Regions from separate parts of the Homo sapiens genome. Here all the other regions are linked to region 3. Evidence: promoter capture Hi-C in human tissues and cell types (Jung and others, 2019). All regions are on one chromosome and are shown on one strand. Each heading gives the region's core, a stretch centred on a gene start or on the middle of the fragment in contact. The rest is flanking DNA. Distances are from core to core; before and after follow the strand shown. Region 1 has its middle 20 kb from the start of LINC01104. Region 2 has its middle 2.7 kb from the start of LINC01104. Region 3 holds the start of AFF3 (ALF transcription elongation factor 3).

What was found. Contacts are between HindIII fragments. The study calls those that stand out against the background at their distance.
Region 1: a contact is called between a fragment that was not itself captured here and the fragment with the promoter of AFF3 in region 3, in 1 of the 25 tissues and cell types used here (mesenchymal stem cells).
Region 2: a fragment that was not itself captured here is called in contact with the fragment with the promoter of AFF3 in region 3 in 2 of the 25 tissues and cell types used here (mesenchymal stem cells and neural progenitor cells).

The regions. Positions count from the first base shown.
Region 1 is chr2:100,185,804-100,190,144 of GRCh38, forward strand. No RefSeq gene overlaps it. Among named protein-coding and RNA genes, the nearest start is that of LINC01104, 20 kb to the right of the region's middle. The HindIII fragment of the contact is 3,802 bases long and covers 1-3,319 here.
Region 2 is chr2:100,203,072-100,207,955 of GRCh38, forward strand. No RefSeq gene overlaps it. Among named protein-coding and RNA genes, the nearest start is that of LINC01104, 2.7 kb to the right of the region's middle. The HindIII fragment of the contact is 6,322 bases long and covers 1-4,651 here.
Region 3 is chr2:100,140,180-100,144,484 of GRCh38, forward strand. AFF3 (ALF transcription elongation factor 3) reads right to left here and starts at 2,411. Exons shown (of 25, transcript NM_001386135.1): 1 at 2,305-2,411. The HindIII fragment of the contact is 13,656 bases long and covers 1-4,305 here.

The DNA.
Region 1 (4,341 bases), core at 169-2,668, 45 kb after region 3:
TCATCTTTGTCTCTGAGTTTGCAGTTACAATAAAGTGCTTGCAAAGTCTTGTTTAAATGGCTGAAATCCCTCCTGGAAGCTGCAGGAATTCAGAGGCTTGGATGTAGGTAAATGAAACAACCCTTGTTTTGCTTTCTGGCTAAATGTTGACCCTTCTTATTTATGTAAGGAGATCAATTAGTCATGGAGAAGGGGTCAACTGACCTCTTGGATATTTGGTCCTGAACCATTTAGGAAGGTTTTGCCTTTTATTTAAGATCCTTAGCAAGCTTCCCTTGAAGTTACGTCTATTTTTATAGCCTGCCCCCTCACCTGCCCTCCGTCCTTCTTTCCTCCCTTCATTCCTCTCTTCCTTCCTCCCCACCTCTTTCCCTCTCCCAACTTGCTTTTCCCCCTTGTCTCCATCCTCCCTCCCCACACCTCCCCTGGTGTTCTGTGATGAACGCAGTGATGCAACTTGGGGCTTGTGGGTCTTCCCCGAAGGACTTCTGGAGGGGGCTCCTCCTTGATAGCCCCCATGCTGCCTGTTACCTGCACAGTGGGGGTCTTAGAGTTCATCCTGGCCTCCTGCCTGGGAGGACCCTAGCAAGCTCCACCTTTGGGATTTCGTCCACCCCTGTCCAGTTGCTGCTTCGCTCCTCTTCTTGGTTTGGGTTTGCTGGCTTCTATTATTGGAGGTGGATCTCAGGGGATCTCGCGGGAATGCTCAGCACACGCACGGTTCATCTACTTAGGCTCCACAGTGCCTTGTTTTCTTTATGGTCAGGCATATTTTGTTTCCATATTACTGGATCCATCCAGAGTCATTTTGAAGATTTTTTCCAGTGATACTGTTGGATGATGGAGAATCTCTGGATATGTGTGGGGGCAGGTGGGCAAAGGGAGTTGGGCATGGAGGTGGATTATAACATCAAACATTCGTCTCCAGCTCTCAGAACAAACCAAAGCCAAATATCCACATTCTGAGTGTTTCTGCTTCTGCCAGGGCCGAACATCTCCCTTTTCCATTTTGTTTGTACCTTTAGGACTTGTGTCAATGACCTCCCCTCTGACCTTTCCTACATCTGAAGAACTCTTATTTTTACTTTTTATTTTTTGAGACAGAGTCATGCTCTTTCGCCCAGGCTAGAGTGCATTGGTGTGATCCGGGCTCACTGCAACCTCTGCCTACTGGGTTCAAGCGATTCTCCTGCCTCAGCCTCATGAGTAGCTGGGACTACAGGCATGCGCCACCACACCTGGCTAATTTTTTGTATTTTCTAGTGGAGACAGGGTTTCATCATGTTGGCCAGGCTGGTCTTGAACTCCTGACCTCAGGTGATCCACCCACCTCAGCCTCCCAAAATGCTGGGGTTACAGACATGAGCCACCACGCATGACCAGAACTCTTATTAAACTCATACTTTGCTTTTTGTTTCATTCAGGGTATGCTAGTTATTAAAAACAAACAACAAACAAAATCTGAGTGGCTTAAAGGAATGACAACGTAATTCTTGCTCATGTCACAGTCCATGTGGGTTGGGCACTGGAACCAAGTCCCTTCCATTGTGGCAGAAGCATCTTCAACCTGTGACCTCCTAGGGTACCAAAGAAGGATGGAGAGTGGAGGATCTCCTTGGAATGTTCCAGAGGCCAGGTCTGAGGGTGGCAGGTGTAATTTCTCACCATGTTCTTTTGGCCAGAACTCAGGCAGCTGGTCCTGCCTCTCTGCCAGAGGCACTGTAATGTAGTGAAGTTATCGGCCCAGGAAGAAAAGGGACACATTTGATGGGCACATAAGCACTGTCTCTGCTCTATTTGTTGATGCTTCACTTTGATTATATGTTGTCTAATTATCTTCATGGATGCAGAAAAGTGTTAAGGGGCCTCAGAAGTTTAATTTAAACATCTCATTTTGCAGATGAGGCCCAGAGAAGCAAGGTGACTTGCCAGGTGCAGTTTAGACTAGAATATTCCTCTTCAGATTCCTGGCCCGGAACTTACAATTCCACCCCTAAGCATTTTGCATTATTTTTACCTGACCAAGAAGCCATATACTCACTGAAGTTGGGAATTAGGTCTCTAATCCCAGCTCTTAGATTCGTGCTGGGTGTGAAGTAAACCCTATAATTGATCAGAAGTGAAGTTGCAGGGCACAAGTTTCCCTTTCCAAAGGGGAAACTCTCACGAGGACCTTTTTTATACAGAGGGAGAGGGTGAAAGAAAGAAGGCATATGGCCATATTTCACAAATCTAGGACGCCAATGTCTGAAAGATGCCCCATAATTTAGTTACCACCAAGGAAAAAAAACGCTGTAAATTAAATGTAGCAAAATGCTTTCTTATCACTTCAATTATAATTTTATACTTAGTAATAGAGCTAATATAGGTTTAATAAGATAGATTTGTTAAACTGGAGTTACATATCCATAAAATTCACCATTCCAACCTTTTTTTGGGAGGGAGGGGGTCTCTCTGTCACCCAGGCTGGCATGCAATGGTGTGATCATGGCTCACGATAGCCTTGAACTCCCAGGCTCAAGTGTTCCTCCCACCTTAGCCTCTTAAGTAGTTGGGACCACAAACACGCACCACCATGCCTGGCTAATTTTTAAAAATTTATTTTTGTACAGACAGGGTCTCACTGTGTTGCCAGGGTTGCTGTCAAGCTCCTGGGCTCAAGCAATCCTCCCACCTTGGCCTCCCAAAGTGCTGGGATTACAGGCATGAGTCACTACCCCCAACCTTCAACCATTTTCTAAGTGCAGAGTTAAGTGGCATTAAGTACATTTACATTGTTATGCAACCATCACGCTTTATCTCTAGAACTTTTCTGTCTTTTCAAACTGAAATTCTGTACCCATTAAACAATTCCCCAGTAACTCCTCCTCTGAGCCCCTATTACCCACTACTCTATTTTGTGTCTCTATGGATTTGACTATTCCAGGTACCTCATGTAAGTGGAATCATACAGTAGTGGTCCTTTTGTGAGTTGCTGATTTTGTTTAGCATAATGTCTTCGAGGCTCTTCCACATTGTAGCCCATGTCAGCGCTTCCTTCCATTTTAAGGCAGAATAATAATATTCCATTGTGTATATGCACATTTTGTTGTCCATTCATCCATGGATGGGCACTCAGGCTGCTTCTGGCTAGTGTGAATAATACCGCTACGAACATGGGTGCGCAAATATCTGTTTGAATCCTTGCCTTCAGTTACTTTGGTATATAGCCAGAAGTGGAATTGCTGGATCATGTAATTCTATATTTCATTTTCTGAGGAACTTCCCTACTGTTTTCCACACTGGCTGCCCCATTTTACATTCCCACCCATAGTGCAGGGGGTCCCCCTTTCCCCACACCCTTGCCAGTACTTACAATTTGCCATTTTAAAATAATAGCCGTCCTAATTGGACATAGATTTTTATCACATAGCACTCTTGCAATTGTGTAAAAATGAAAATATAAGTGAAATTAATCATTTCAGGCATTGCTTAAACTTCTTTGCATCCAGTCTGACTTTCCTGAGGCACTGTGTGATTCAGAGAAGGTGACATTTTCCTGCCCAATGTTATGCTCTGTGCTGTAAGACCATCAAACTCACTGGTGATGCAGCATTTTCTGAAGAAGGCCCTAAAAGCACTGGTGCTGGGCTCTTCAGCTAATGTTCTTTCTGTACAGCCAGCCCACTTGTGGCTCCTGCTTTGAGAATATTGCTAAGTATGCCTGGCTTACCATCTAAATACCATCTCCCTACCATGTCCTGGCAACCCCTTAGCTCCCAGGAGTTTAAACAGCACTCCACTCTGACGTCGGAGAGTTTCGTCCCAGCAGCTGATCTCTATTCTGCATGGTTTTGATGCTGGTATTTTAGATGTCAGTGCCTGCCCAGGACTGTTGACAAAAGACATACGATGTCATTGATTGCAAGGCGTGTCTTAATTCCCGAAAGGTTAAAGTAAAAAAAGAATGTTTGTCTTAGAAAGGATGACATATATTGATAAACTATTATAGGTAAGTATTGTATTTTGTACATGGATCACTTGATAGGAAGCCTCTGCTGTAGCTCAGCCCCTCATTTAAAATTACCATTTAATAACTTGGTGAGCAGGGCAAGGAGGGCACAGCCCACCTCATTGAATGAGACTAGAGCCCCTTTCCTCCTGGAGTCACATGAGCAGGGGTAGCAGTGCTGTCCCAACAGGTGGAGAAGGTACACTGGGTGACCTGCAGGGTGTGGAGCCTGTTACTCTTGGAGACAGAGTTTAGTCTGGTCCTTTGTAGAAGAACAAGGCCTATATGGAACAAACATGAAGGCTTTTTCCAGCCATGAGACAGGGGAGTGGACATCATTTGTGCACTGA
Region 2 (4,884 bases), core at 241-2,740, 62 kb after region 3:
ACTTAGAAATCCATGTTTATTTTTTTTTCTCCTTCAGGTTATCAAAGACGTGTTCCTAAAGAGAGCCAAGGTGTCCCACAACTATCAGTCAAGTGCGAGCGGGTGACCTGCTACCCGCTAAAGAGAGGGATTTTTCAGTTGTTACTCATTCTTAGTTCCTAGCACCGGGGCTAAGAAGCCCACCCTCCCAGCTCCAAGGACCTCTCTCATTTATATGGCGTATACCTTTCTTTTTTTTTCTTTCTTTTGTTTTACTTTTTTGGAGATAGAGTCTTGCTCTATCCCCCAGGCTGGAGTGCAGTGGCACGATCTTGGCTCACTGCAACCTCCGCCTCCCAGGTTCAAGGGATTCCCATACCTCAGCCTCCCGAGTAGCTGGGATTACAGGTGCATGCCACCATGCCCAGCTAATTTTTTGTATTTTTAGTAGAGACAGGGTTTCACCATGTTGGCCAGGCTGGTCTTGAACTCCTGACCTCAAGTGATCTGCTCACCTCGGCTTCCCAAAGTGTTAGGATTACACGTGTGAGCCACCGCACCTGGCCAGCACGTAACTTTCTATTTGTTTTTCTTCTGCCTTCAGAATAATCATTTTGCTTCTGATTTCTTCTCTGACACTAAGACTGGGAGTCACAGGTCAAGAGGAAAACCACAGATTAGGAACAAAGAGGAATGCACTAATGGGCAAGAACATATAAAGCTTACAAATAATAGGTTGAGAGCTTTTCCAACTGTCCGTCTTGCCTCTGCCCTCTGAGGTTGGAGGTCGGCAAATGTGTTCTGGCTGTGGGTAAAAACTGCTGTGTTTTCCTCGTTGACCTAAGTGCCATAAATGCGTCCTCCAGGTTCTCTCATTAAAGATGAATTTGGGTAGATTAGAGATGGGGAAAAAAAAACAGCGGAAGGTAAAAGGTTTTCATCACTTAATAATACCAATTTTATCATCACTTAGCATAACTTATTTCTGCCAATTTTATCATCACTTACAATAACTTCCATTAGGGTAATAAGGCATTAAGTATATGTTGATTGCAAATAATCTGGTTACATTCACTAATTATATGGAGACTGATTTTTTTCCTGTTTGAAATATAATTTTAAAACATCTCTACTTCCTAAAAACAGGACATATCAAAGTAAGGAGACACATATGCTGTGGAGATAGAAAATGAAATTCTTGTGTATTTGGCAAGTGCCTGATTACAAGATGAAAATAGACGGAGAATTCATCTGCAGAAATAAAGAATGTAAATGGCTTGCTGCGGCTGATTTGCTCTCACCTTCTCTCCCTTGGGGTCAAATTAATATATTTACTACTGATAAGGTGTTTTATATAGCAGAGGTGTTGGTGCTCAAATGCCATCTCACAGAGTAGGGGGCTGCTCTGAACACATGCTCTTTAGAGAGATTAAGTATAAATTGCCAGGCTCGGAATTTTATGAGTCTTCCATAGCTGTGAAGTGCTGGTTTAGGTAGGGGATAGAGAGGCTTTGGATGCATTAGATTGTCATTTAGAGCTGCTATAAAATTTTGTAAGCCTGTCCATTCTAACCCAGCTTTCAGATGGCTATCATCACTCAACGGTAATAATGACACTACTAGTATGACTAGCAAGTTGCAACTTGAAGATTGACACATATGGACTAAATTCAAACTATTGTTTCCAACTTGATAAAACACCCCTTGGCTGTTTGCAAGTTTATGAGATCACAAATGCCCTGTGCATCCAAACCAGAGCTAGATTTTCAGAGATGCCATTTTTGGTATTTCTGGAATTGGAAGTAGTTTCCTATCAGCCAGCCACAGACATTTTCCAATCTATTTTTCAGTAAAGTGTTCAGATTTTTTTTTTTTTTTGGCTTAGAAGAAATAAAAAATGACTCAGATTTCAATTAAAAACATAATGATAATGATAGTTTGCACTGTGTCATATTTTCAACTATTTAAAAACAATTTTGTGTTTTTGCTCGCTTTTAAAGATCCTGAGCGTGAGGAGAATTTGTGTGATTTATTGCACTTTATAGATTAAACAGGCATTCGCTCCATTTTACAGACAAGGAACTGAGGCTTAGAGAGACCAGTGACTTGCTCAAGGTCACGCATCAAGTAAGTGTCAGCATGAAGACTGGGAGGCTCCAGGTGTCCTGCTCTGCAGCTTTCAACCGTAGCACATGAAATATGGATGATAGGAAATGCAAACCACTCCTTTCACTGTTAACTAAACCACAATGCACTTTCACCGCAATCTTCATGAGTATGGCTCTTACAGAAGGCTGTGACCTTTCGTATGAGATCTGGTCAGCCTGGGCCGATGTGAGGGCCTGTCAAGCTCACGGGATGGTGTCTTTATGTTTTGCACACTTGCCGTCAGATCAGTGTGAAGAGGTGTCTGAGACAGCCAAAACTGGGCTGCCTCTATGTTTGGAGAGTGGGGCACATGTGAAGTGGCTGCGGGGACACCAGCTGTGCCACAGCATTGCCAAGGGCCTTCAGGGCTCATTGACTGCACCTAGAGGCATCTCTCAAGTTGCGCAGTCACTGTGGTTTCCTTCCTAAAAGTAATGAAAGGTGGGAATAAGTTCTGTCTCCCTGAAGGTTTCCAGACAGCAAATAAGAAACCTAGCACAGGCTGGGGCACTGTAACTCACGCCTGTAATTGCAGCACTTTGGGAGGCTGACGGGGGAGGATCACTTGAGACCAGGAGTTCTAGACCAGCCTGGGCAACATAGCGGGACTCCATGTCTATAAACAATTTAAAAATTAGCCAGGCATGGTGGTTGCATGCCTGTAGTCCCAGTTACTTAAGGGGCTGAGGCAGGAGGAGTGCTTGTGCCTGGGAGGTCAAGGCTCCAGTGAACCATGATTGTGCCACTGCATTCCAGCCTGGGTGACAGAGTGAGACCCTGTCTCAAAAACAAAAAAACAAAACTAGCATAATTCAAATTTGAATATGCCCTAAGATAGGATAAGTATGTCCCTTCTGATTGCAGATTGTTACCTGAGGGTGTATGCATTCCCAATGACATTGCTACTATACTTGATATCTCACCTTGGGAGAAAAAAAAAGGTCAAGAAAGTTTAAGTCAAAAAAAGTCATAGTCCAAGGAGGAGAGCTTTCCTTGATTTCAGTCTCTCCCATCTGTGTGTGCCATCCACAATTAGAATCACACATTACAAGTTCCTGGGTGATTCCAGGGCCAAGGGAAGCAAGGTTTATATATTGCTGAGGAGAATGCTCCAACCTGAATTGTAAGATGCGTCTTGCTGTCACATTCTACTTGCATTTCTAAAACTGTAAAAAGGAATTGCTTGGCTTCCCTAAGTGTAAAATCACTAAGGTGAGATTATGTTTCCATGTTACGATGCCCCCATCACCTCTTGAGATTTACTGAGCAAGATGCCTTGTGGGAGGGGGTTTAAATGCACAGATGTAAGCCCTGCAATCCCAACACTCACAATCTTTATATTAACAAGAACATGCTTCTAATTATTCCAAATTCTGTTAAAATTAAGCCCAAATGTTCAATTTTCCACGTGTTCCTCTTAATTAGAAATGAAATGAAAGAGAAAAAGAAACCATCAAAATTATATAAATAAAAACAGATGGAAGAGAGTGTTGGAAGCTCTTTTCTATAACATTCCCTTTAATAAAATTCATTGGTTAATTTGGTTGATAAAAGCAGCGTTAAAATTAAATAAGAATTAACATACACTCGGATAAATATTTGTCGCTTCTTTCATGTGCTACCATGATAAAGGTAATTTAGCTTAAAAGCAGTCATCATCTTTCTTCATAACTGATAAAGCATTACTAATTGTGTGTGTTAATATGGTACAATATGGAATTGAATAGAGATTTTATCTTAATAACATCTCCATTAAATTAAGGACAGTGTTGTATGACAGGAAAGATAAGTCTGTTTATTCCAAGCCAGCACATCAAAAGAACAACTGTGGGAGATGGTGCAATAACTAACATTTTCTATAGTGTTCTAGCTGGCAGCCTCACATTTATAAGGCTTGTAAGCAATGTTGTAAGCAATGCTGTTTTGTGAGATAATCTAGATAATGTTTCATTGAGAAAAGTGATATTTTAATTATGGTGTAAAAGATACTGATCTTTTCCTTTCTGTGTCTAATAGGATATTTCTACAAACAAGATGCTGGATGGAAAATGATCTGATTCTATTTCAATAAAATAACCACCCTTTGAGGCAATTTCACCACCCCTGAGCCTCTGTGAGCAGGACATGAGGGGCCAGGGGTTACCAAGAAGAGAGTTGACAATAACGACTGGACTGGGGGAAAGAGGGGGCCATGGTGTCAGTGCCTTCCTCCTTCTGTCCCTCATGGGGCTGTCTTGTGCAGGACTGCCTTCCTGCCCCATGGCGGTGCACTCAGCTATGTCCCTGCAGGCTGGTAGGCCAGGATTCCCTCTGCCCATTAGCTGCAGACAGCCTGGCCCGGGGCTGAAAAGGGGGAGCTGAACCCTGATGGCAAAGAGGGAGTTAGAGTCCAGAGCTCCCTTCCCCACATGAGCCTGGGGAGCTTAGCTCTGATAAGTACATCGTTGCCTTGGCACCATCTGCCCTGGAGGACCAGGAGATGTTTGGAATGCCAGTTGTTGTGTCTGTTAGTTTGTATTTTAAAAGCACATGCCACAAACTGCCTATTCAGAGACCGGATTTGCTATGACTGTGAGATGCTGTGCCTTGATATGCTGACATTCTCCCATGTCATCTCTCTGCCTCTGGGAGCAAATGTCCTCCAGCCCTACAGACACATGCAGGGCCTCGGAAGACGTATCTCTTTACTGCCACTCCGGCCACGCACATGTCTGATAAGAAGCAGTATTATAGTGAATAGCCAGAGTCAATATTAAG
Region 3 (4,305 bases), core at 1,161-3,660:
GACATTACACCCACTTCACAGAAAAAGATGTGGAAGTGCAGAAGATAAAAGTTATTTATGGAAGGGTCCATAGCTGTCAACCTTGATAGGCAAGACATCAGGTCCTTCCTCTGAGTAGTGGTGTAGAAAAAATGGTTGGAATTTAGAAACCAGCATCCAGCTCCTCACCATGCCTTCAGCTTTCTCTGTGACTTTGAACTTGTTTCTTAAACTCTCTGAAACTGGACGTCCTCACTGGTCACGTTTTGTTACTACTTGCTTTGTATTCTGGGTGTGATGGGTGGGGGATTGGGACACAGAATCTGGAGATGGTCAGATCCCAACGCTGCTATTTCCCTGCTCTGCACTCTTAGGCTACCTACCAATCTCTCCTCTAAAATAAGCATAATTGCAATGGCTCAGATACAATAACAAAATGTGTGTAAAATGCCGAGCACCACGTCTCACACCTGAGAGGCACTGAATGCATGTTATATACTATCATTTGGATGTCACCGTTCCATGTGCCTATTTCCTGGTTTGCTGTACAAGATGTGTATGAGTACATGTCATCAAGCCCACAGAGCTCCAGAACATGTTCCTCTCACAAGCAGGCCTCATAGGGAGGGGTGTTCTGTGCTGTTCCTCTTTCCTGCTCACTACTTGTCTGTAGCTACAGTGTAAGGACTGTAATGTCACTGCTCTGGCCTTAAGTGTCACCCCCCAAACCCATTTTACACACACCACCTCCCACCTTTCACCTTTCCCAAACTCTTACCATGTCCCTTCAAGTTTGATGGCTTAATTGTACAAAAGGTAGTGATGATGATGATGATGATGATGACAATGATAACAGCTGCTAATACTTACTGAGCCCTTTCAATGTTCCAGGCACTTGTCTAAGCACTTTACATGTATTAGCTTATTTAATTCTTAAGAGGAAGGGATTACTATCTACTATTGTACTTGTGTTACAGATGTGGGAACTCCGATGCAGAGATGTATAGTGACTTGCCTAAAACCATCATGTTAGAGTGGGAATTTAAACCTTGAAATCTGGAAAATAAGCAATGTATATATTTTTCTATTTTCTAAATGCAAATCAAATATACATATGCATAACACCACTAAACACTAAGTGCAGTTACGCCTAGAACAAGGGAATAGCAGTTGACAGAAACACAACCAAAACTAAGAATATTAAATGTCTGTATTACTTTCACTGTAATCACTTCACTTCAACAGTGAGATGGGATAGCCCTAGGTAAAGGAAGGTGCTCTTGTAGTTAGAACATTCTTAAATTTTGCACCAAGGAACACATGCTTTTAATAATGGCAGAGACAACATTTTTTGATGGATTATTTAGTTTGTACGATCAACATTCAAAGAATGAGTTTACCACCACTTTGTTATTGTAAACACTTGACCTTTAGCTACCTGAATGATCCCCTCTTTGAATAAAAGGAATTATGAAACACATGTGTAGACATATTTCATTTTTATATATGTGAGACTCGAATAGCAAGGAAATCACATATTAGGAAAAAAACCCCTTTGTCTTGCTATTAGTTCTCTTTGGTTTCAAAAATCTGGTCACTGTGTATATTGCATTATATCATATGTGTGTGTACATATATATACACACATAAACACACATACACACAATGTCATGTGTATAAATACATGATGTGTTTATGCACATACACAGACACACACACACAAATACACACATATACAATGTTCCATCCAAGAAATACAAATATAGTGCTGTTAGCCCCTAACAGTGAGGAGGTCATTATTCCAAGTCATTTCTGCAGAAGTGACGGTGGCCTTAGGTGGAACTGCCCATGATCTCTCCTTGCAAGCTCACTCACTGGGGCCATTGACTGGGATCCAGTCTGTGGCCATGTCATGGTTTCTATTTTTGAGGTTATAGCTAATGAGCAACATGAGGTTAAGACACACTTTTCATAAGGCCCCAGCCAGCATCATAAATATGTGTGTGAGCATGTTCACACTCAGGTTATGTCTTCTTTATGTGCACCCTCTACCACACACACACACACACATGCACACGCACACACACTGACGGCTTCAGTGACCAACTTTGGTCACATCCCATCTCTTCCTTCTCAATCCCTCTGGCTGTTCACCAGGGCCTGGACCATCTCGGTGAGGCTGACCAAGAATGCTCCCCCTGCCCTGACCAGCGGAGCATGGGCACAGCTACTTAGAGCGCCACCCTTCAGGACACAAAGTCGGGGCTACCTCTCTTCCAGGCAAGGCATCCTAGAGGGCCCGCACACCCTCCAGTTTGATCTTACCTCTCAGCTCCCGTTCCTTTTCTTTCTCTCCCCAGTAAGTCGTTGAACGTCTTTCTTCTGAGGCTGAGCGTGGAGCTCTCTTCTCGCTGGCGAGCTTTCTGAATGGCACTTTCTGTACAAACAGGAAGAGCATGTGTGGTCACAACCCAAGTGTGCAGGTGTTGATAGAGGATGTGAAAGTGTGGAGGCGAGTGACTAAACCAGATACCCAACCGGCCAACTCTCACTTGTGGCAGGGCCTGGTCTACCAGAAGGCTGGAAGCAGGAACCTGGACTCTACTCTGGGGAGACCAACTGACAAAAGCAGAGGATGGTGGCCCTGGAGGCCAAGGGAGAAGGTCTCTTTGACTCCTGTGCTTTCTAACCCTATGCAGACCCATAAAAGAATCCCAGGAACATTTTGGAATCTCTTAGATATATGATTATCAAGAATGTTGATTTCAATGGGCTGCTTAACTTGTCCAAAGCTCTGCTGGTTTCCCAGGCTGTCTGGGCCTCCAAGAGATCAGGACCAAAGGCTCATCCTGCATTGGAACTGTGACAAGTCTTCCAGACCTTTCTAGAACAAAGCTACACCAGGAAAGAAGAGTCTTAGGCAAGGAATCAGATGTCCTAAGGCTGCTCTACATGACCTACATGATGGGTGTTACCTCCTCATCTCCCATTCAGTCAACCCACGGGCACTGGACTTCCTGCCCGACACCCTTCCCTCTCCCCATTCATGCCTGGAATTATTTTCACTAATGACACCAGGGATTCACTAATGGATGCTTTTTCAGTTCCTGTCCTATTTGTCTCCACTGGCAGTGTTTGACTTCCCTGTAGTGTTGACCATTTCTTTCCTCCCAGAACTTCTGCCTGGGCCGCCATGACTCCATACTCTCCTGGTTTTTGTCAGGCGGTCTCTCACACTGGCAGGCTTCCATTCTTTGGTCTTAATTTTCGCCCTCCTGCAAGCTCCACTCTCCGCCTCATGGTTCCTGTTCTCCATGGGTGGCCTCTTCCCAGCTCCAGATGGAACTTGCCAAGCCCACATCCATAGCATCACACATTTCTGCTGTTCTCCTGGAACATCCCCCAGCACCTCCCGTCAGACTCGCCACAATGAAACCCTGCTCTGTCCTCTACCCCACTCATTACTTACCATGTGGCCTGTGAATTCCCTCCTGCCTTGTCCCAGCTTGCTCCTCAGGTCTCTACCCCCTTCTGAGTTTACCACCTTCTGATCTCTCACTTTGCCTCTGCTAATCTGGCTTCTTCAGGTTTGACCCTCCATTATCCTCATCCAAACAGGCCCGTCCTTATCCTGAGAATGGATACCTAGAAACTTCCCCACCCAGTCCTATCCCAAGCCCTGGGAAATTATCCCAGTATTGTCTGCCTCATGTCCCTGGCAAGGAGAAAACGTTTCTTTATCTTATACCCAAACCAGAAATGGGGAGGCTTCCCACGTTCTTCTCTTTGCTGAATACTCTTCAACCTTCCATCACCAAGCCCTGCCCATTCTACCTCTTCAGTCACTCCTCAGATCCTTCTTCCCGTCCGCATCTCCACAGCCACACCCTCCCTCCATTGCCTCTCATCACTGCCCTAATCCCCAAGGGGTACGTGCACCCAGGGCACACCAGACCGTTCACTGAAGGATGAGAAGAAAGGAATTGAATGTCTATCTACCCACACTTGTCTGGTTTTTGTATTTAATTAAGACTCACATACCATAAAATGAGCCGTTTTAAGATGGGGAATCCTGTGGCATTGAGTACACTCACAATGCTGTGCAGCCACCACCTCCATCGAGTTCCCAGACTTACATCTATTTTTACGTCATGTTTTTAGTGTTTACATTTTGTGTATGTTTCAAGGCATGCAATGTGTGAATACAGTTGTATTGTATATCATTTGTGAATAATCATACATCTGCTCAGAATAGGCGGCAAAGACTTTTTTGCTGAAGAAGATACAAAATTAGAAAAGTGGGGACACGTGACCTCCTAACTCATC